2 separate regions of the Homo sapiens genome follow, and region 1 is linked to region 2. Evidence: promoter capture Hi-C in 16 types of primary human blood cells and fetal thymus (Javierre and others, 2016). All regions are on one chromosome and are shown on one strand. Each heading gives the region's core, a stretch centred on a gene start or on the middle of the fragment in contact. The rest is flanking DNA. Distances are from core to core; before and after follow the strand shown.

The links. The method cuts DNA at HindIII sites, captures the fragments that hold promoters and counts their contacts. A CHiCAGO score of 5 or more calls a contact.
Region 1: a fragment that was not itself captured here is called in contact with the fragment with the promoter of OR1G1 in region 2 in 2 of 17 cell types (endothelial precursors and M2 macrophages); the score reaches 7.0 in endothelial precursors.

Annotation. Positions count from the first base shown.
Region 1 is chr17:3,191,985-3,194,772 of GRCh38, reverse strand. No RefSeq gene overlaps it. Among named protein-coding and RNA genes, the nearest start is that of OR1A2, 4.1 kb to the left of the region's middle. The HindIII fragment of the contact is 1,007 bases long and covers 880-1,886 here.
Region 2 is chr17:3,125,929-3,129,085 of GRCh38, reverse strand. OR1G1 (olfactory receptor family 1 subfamily G member 1) reads left to right here and starts at 1,535. Exons shown (of 1, transcript NM_003555.1): 1 at 1,535-2,476. The coding sequence starts at 1,535. The coding sequence ends at 2,476. The HindIII fragment of the contact is 3,090 bases long and covers 500-3,157 here.

The DNA of each region.
Region 1 (2,788 bases), core at 134-2,633, 66 kb before region 2:
CCTGACCTTGTGATCCACCTGCCTCGACCTCCCAAAGTGCTGAGATTACAGGTATGAGCCACTATGCCCAGCCTAAACATTTTCTGATGTATTTGTTACTGTAGCCCAATATATCCTAACTTTTTTTCTTAAAACACTTTGCTGAATAGTTAATCCGATCTATAATTAATTCAATCATCAATTCCTGGTGTCTCATATAGTATACATGTGAAGTACATGCTAAGCCCTGGGTATGCAGGTCTAATTATCTTATCCCCAAACATGATGTGTTCTTTCATCTTTGCACCTAAAGTCACTTGGCTTTCTGTCTTGAAATGCCCTTTCTCATCTTCACACAGAATCATAATACCTCAGGTTTCAAAGGATTCAGTAATTTTGGAGGGCTCAGAGACATTATTAGCTCCTATGATACGGAAGTGTAAGATTTCAGACAGAGGAGAACTCTGGGCAACATGGCAAAGCAAACTCATGTTGACAGGTCCTGTTTCTATTAAAACATATTCTAGATAAATTAAAATTTTTTTGTAAATGTAGCTAAGCCCAAGAGAAAACTCAGAGCAGGGGTTTTAGGCTATAACTGATGCTGTGGTGGTCCTTTGGGGTTTTGAACCAGGAATTTGGCTCTCAGGGATGGAGTCTGTGCTATTATTTCCCTTTTGGTACTGGAGATGCAGTCACAGGTCTGCAGAAGCAGGAAGCTTAACTTGAGTCGTCTGCTTAAAATACTTAAAATACTGTCCTATATTTGAAAGGATCATTGTAAGAAACTTTTGCCCCATGAGAATTGGAAAGGAAATAGAGAAAATTCACAGAAAATGTGGTTGTCTAGAAATAAAATCAAAGAGAATCAATAGATACACTAAGAGATTTCAGAAAGCTTGTTAGATATAAATCATTTAAAATAATCAATGCTGTTTTTGTATTTAGGTAAAAATAACTTAGAAAATATAATTTGAAAAAGATCCCCATTCAGAAAGCAACAGAAATTTTAGGGAATCTAGGATGATTCTAACAAAAAAAGCCAAGACTGTTATCAAATATTACAAACCTTTACTTAAGAAGAAAAAAAGAATATCTAAAAACGTGGAGATGAAAGCACCGGTGATAGAAAAACTCAATGTGGTAAAAATGTCAATTCTTCCCAAGTTAATCTATAAATTTGGTGCAATCTAATCAACATACCACAGGTTTATTTTAAACATGGAACTTACCAAACTATCCTAAAATTGACGTAGACAAATAAAGAGCCAAGAAGTCTAAGTCCATTTGAGGAAAAGCATGAGAAAAAAATTACTTTTTCAGGTATTAAAATGAATTACTATGTTCTCAGAAATAAGCTCTAGTATTTGATAGTACAGTAGGGAAATTAGAGTTAACAATAATATATTATTTCAAAATAGCTAGACGAGAAGAATATGATGTTCCCAACACAAAGAAATGCCAAATGTTTGAGACAATGGATATCTCAGTTACCCCAATTAGAGCATTACACATGGTATACAGGTATCAAAATATCACATGTACCCCCCCAAATATATACGACTATTATATATCAATTAAAAAAAGGGAATGAGTTAAAAATGCAAAAAAATAAGGTGTACATATTCCTTAAAAAATGAATTACTGTGGTAGTTGAAGCATTTGAGTAGTTCTGGTGTAGGGACTGAAAATTAAATCTATGTAACAGACTGGAGAGCTCAGAACAGACCAAGCATTGCACCAAGCAATTTATTAGACATTGGTGTATGACATGAGTTGGTTTATAATACTGTAGGCAGAGAAAGGATGGACTGACTTTAGCTAAGAGTGCTGGAACAATGGGATACCCATTTATTTAAAAAGTGCAGAAAAATAATTCCCAAGGGATTAATTGTAAGAGCAAAGCTTCCAAATTTTAGAAGAAAATAGAGAAAATATATTTGTGATATAATTTATTTCTTAAACCACATAAAACATGAAAGAGAATATTGTAAAATTTGACTACATTAAAAATGGAAAACATTTGGTAAAAAACATACCGTAAGGAGGGGGAAAGATGAGCCATGAACTGAAAGAGGTATTTGCAGAACACATAATCGATAAGGAATTCATATTCAGAATACGTAGGAGTCCTATACACTAATAAGATAATTTTTAAAATTTTTGTAGAGACAGGGTCTCGCTATGTTCCCCAACCTGATCTTGAACTCCTGGCCTCAAGTGACTCTCCCATCCCAGCCTCTCAAAGAGTTAGGACTACAGGTATGAGCCAGCATGTCTGACCTCATTTTATAAAAAATAATGTGATTGAAGAAAGAAGTTACTGAAAGATATATACTATATCATATAATATGTGTAAATTTTAATGGATAAAATAATACATGTGTATGTAGTCAAAGTATAAATCCTGACTGGGAGCGTACTACCAACTCTAGAATTGCAGTTATGTCTGGAGGTAAAGGGGAAAAAATTAGATTTTGGATGGAAAAAAAGGGAGTCTCAAAAGTATTTGTAGTATTTATTTATTTAAAAAACTTAGAATAACTAAGACCACATTCTTATATTTGTTAAATCTAGATAATAAATTTTTGTTATATTATTCTCTTTGTTTTGCTGATGTTTTAATCATACTATTATAATAAACACATTTAATAATTTAAGGTAAAGATTTCACATATTTGATAATAATTGGATCAAAAGTGTGTCCATGGCACTGGGAAAAGATTGAGAATAAATGGGGAGAAAAAATGTATTTACATGCTCAGCCAGGCTTATTAGTAGAGAAATTTGCTTACTGGCCCCAAAATTA
Region 2 (3,157 bases), core at 286-2,785:
GGCTGAGACAAGGGAATCACTTGAGCCCAGCAGGTGGAGACTGCAGTGAGCTGAGTTCGTGCTACTGCACTCCAGCCTGGGTGACAGAGTGAGACTCCATCTCAAAAATCATAACAATAATAATAAAGGTTCAGGCTAATTCTTATGCCTGATATTACCTCTATAGCAAAGCCCCTTTCCATTCTTCCCACTCTTTCCATTCTCTGGGGTTTATGTATTTACATGATAGATTCATACTGAGCATCTGTGTTGTACCAGCCTCAAGGCTAATGCTAGATTTCAAAGCTGAGCCAATTAGGCACCATCTCTGCCTACTCCCAGTGATGCTCACAGCAGAATGAGGGACACTCATATAAACAGACACTCAGAATCCAAGGTGACACGTGCTGTGATGGGGGAGGCACTGCATTAGGAAGGTCACGAACCTGAGTTTCTGGTGAGAGGATGAGTTGGGAAAGACTTCCCAGAAGAGGTGACATCTAAGGTGAGACCTGAAGCTTAGCTCGTCTGATAAATGGGATGGGAAAAACTATTTCAGCCTGAGAAAGCCTAAAGGTGAGGGAGTATCTGGGCCTTTAAAATAATTGAAACTATGATTAGTGCATAAAGTGTGGAGTGGAGGAGGGAGTTTCATGAGGAACTGGGGATGTCTGTAATAAATGACGGTAAGATCCAGGACATTCAGCCGTGTTCAGTTTAGAGTTTATCCTGGGAGTAATGAGGAGTGTATGAAGGATTTTTCAAGCAGAAAGACAAGAGTCGAATTTGATTTTTAGCAAGCCTATTCTCTGTGTATTTAGAACAGCAGGTGGCAGGTGGGCATACCTGGGGGCATGGAGATCAACTGCCCAAATCCAAGTGAGAAATCACAGTGCCCTGAATGACATGAGCTGCAGCTGGGACTGATGGTGACCAGTAAACAGAGAGACGTCAGTAAATTGTAGCCATATTGAGAAGGTAAAATTGCCAGGCTTTGGTGGTGGTTGGATGTAGGCAGGGAGGGAGAAACGTGGGTCAATAATGACGCTCAGGTTTCTGGCCAGACCCGCTGTGTAGATAACAGTGATAATGATTTCCATGTTAGCCATGCTTTTCCCAATTCCAAAACCCCTTTCCAGGAGCTGTCTTTTTAATTATTGGTACAATGGGCTCATTTGACCTGTAAAATCTTGGGTTGTATAAATGTCATAGTTTCTACATGAACACTACCAGAGCAAAGCCAGCAAGCCCCTCCAGCCCAGCCCCAAAATACACATATTGGCTTAATGCTTATGGAATAAATTTAAAAGCCTCTCATTGCATTACAAACAAATCTGTGGTTTCTCATAGCACCAAGCACAGGAATTTGCAAATATTTAGTCGAACCCTATGAAATGGCCATTTTTGCAGGTCCCAAAGAGTCAAATAGTGGAGATTTCCTATGATCCAACCTCACACTAGAAGATCAACACTGGAATATTGCATAATTTTCAGAGTTCACAATCCAGGGCTTACCAACGTCACCCAATTAACCCAACTTTCTTCCTACAGACAAATGGAGGGGAAAAATCTGACCAGCATCTCAGAATGTTTCCTCCTGGGGTTCTCTGAGCAGCTGGAGGAGCAGAAGCCCCTCTTTGGGTCCTTCCTGTTCATGTACTTGGTCACGGTGGCAGGCAACCTCCTCATCATTCTAGTCATCATTACTGACACTCAACTCCATACCCCCATGTACTTCTTTCTAGCCAACCTCTCCCTTGCAGATGCCTGCTTTGTGTCCACCACAGTCCCTAAGATGCTGGCAAACATACAGATCCAGAGTCAGGCCATCTCCTACTCAGGGTGTCTACTACAGTTGTATTTTTTCATGTTATTTGTGATGCTGGAGGCATTCCTCTTGGCGGTCATGGCCTATGACTGCTACGTGGCCATATGCCACCCACTTCATTACATTCTGATCATGAGCCCTGGGCTCTGCATCTTCCTCGTGTCTGCATCCTGGATCATGAATGCCCTCCACTCCCTTCTACACACACTTCTGATGAACAGCCTGTCCTTCTGCGCAAACCATGAGATCCCACACTTCTTCTGTGACATCAATCCCCTCCTGAGTCTGTCCTGCACAGACCCCTTCACCAATGAGCTGGTGATCTTCATCACTGGGGGTCTCACAGGACTCATTTGTGTGCTTTGCCTGATTATCTCTTACACGAACGTTTTCTCGACCATCCTGAAGATCCCATCAGCTCAGGGGAAGCGGAAAGCCTTTTCCACCTGCAGCTCTCATCTCTCCGTGGTCTCTCTCTTCTTTGGGACTTCTTTTTGTGTTGATTTCAGTTCTCCCTCAACCCACTCGGCCCAGAAGGACACAGTTGCATCAGTGATGTACACAGTGGTAACTCCAATGTTGAATCCCTTTATCTACAGTTTGAGGAACCAAGAAATAAAGTCTTCCCTGAGAAAGTTAATCTGGGTTCGGAAAATTCATTCCCCTTAGTGGTAGTGACTTGACATCCAATATGGGGGTCTCCATGCACCTGCGTTCACCACAGTAAGCAGTGAAGAATGAAAGATGGAGAGAATCTAGAGACCTCTGTTCCAGTACCTACGATCTGAACCTGAAATATTCATGTCTAAGCTACAGGACTGCATCATAACCCATCATCAGGCCAATGTCACAGGTGAAGTTCTTACAATTATGTTCTAAAACCACAGCCATCCAGATGTATAATATAATGTCATGCCTTATTATATTTACTATAGTTAATAATATTGATGATTTAATAATGTTATTAGTTAATGCTTTTTAAACAACATGGGACAGCTCATGACTGAAATAAGGGAATATCTGGCTGGGCTGTTGTATAGGGCCAAGAATAAAATTCAGGGAAGGACGACCTTCCCCCAGCATCACTGTGATCCTGATCACTCGGATCCCCACCCACAGTGTTTCTGCCACAGGCACTGCCCGTATCTGTGATGCTCCCATGCTCAGTGATGAGGAACTGGGTCTAGGAAGGGCTTGATGGAGATGGCATCTTCAGACAGACTCACTGCAGTGTCTTACCAGGCCTCCAAGACCCATAATCCTCCTGCCACCTTAGACTTCATGTGAAAACCTCAGGTTCCTCTTCAGGGCAATTTTTTCCACACTCATTTCATCTCTGCAGCCCCAATG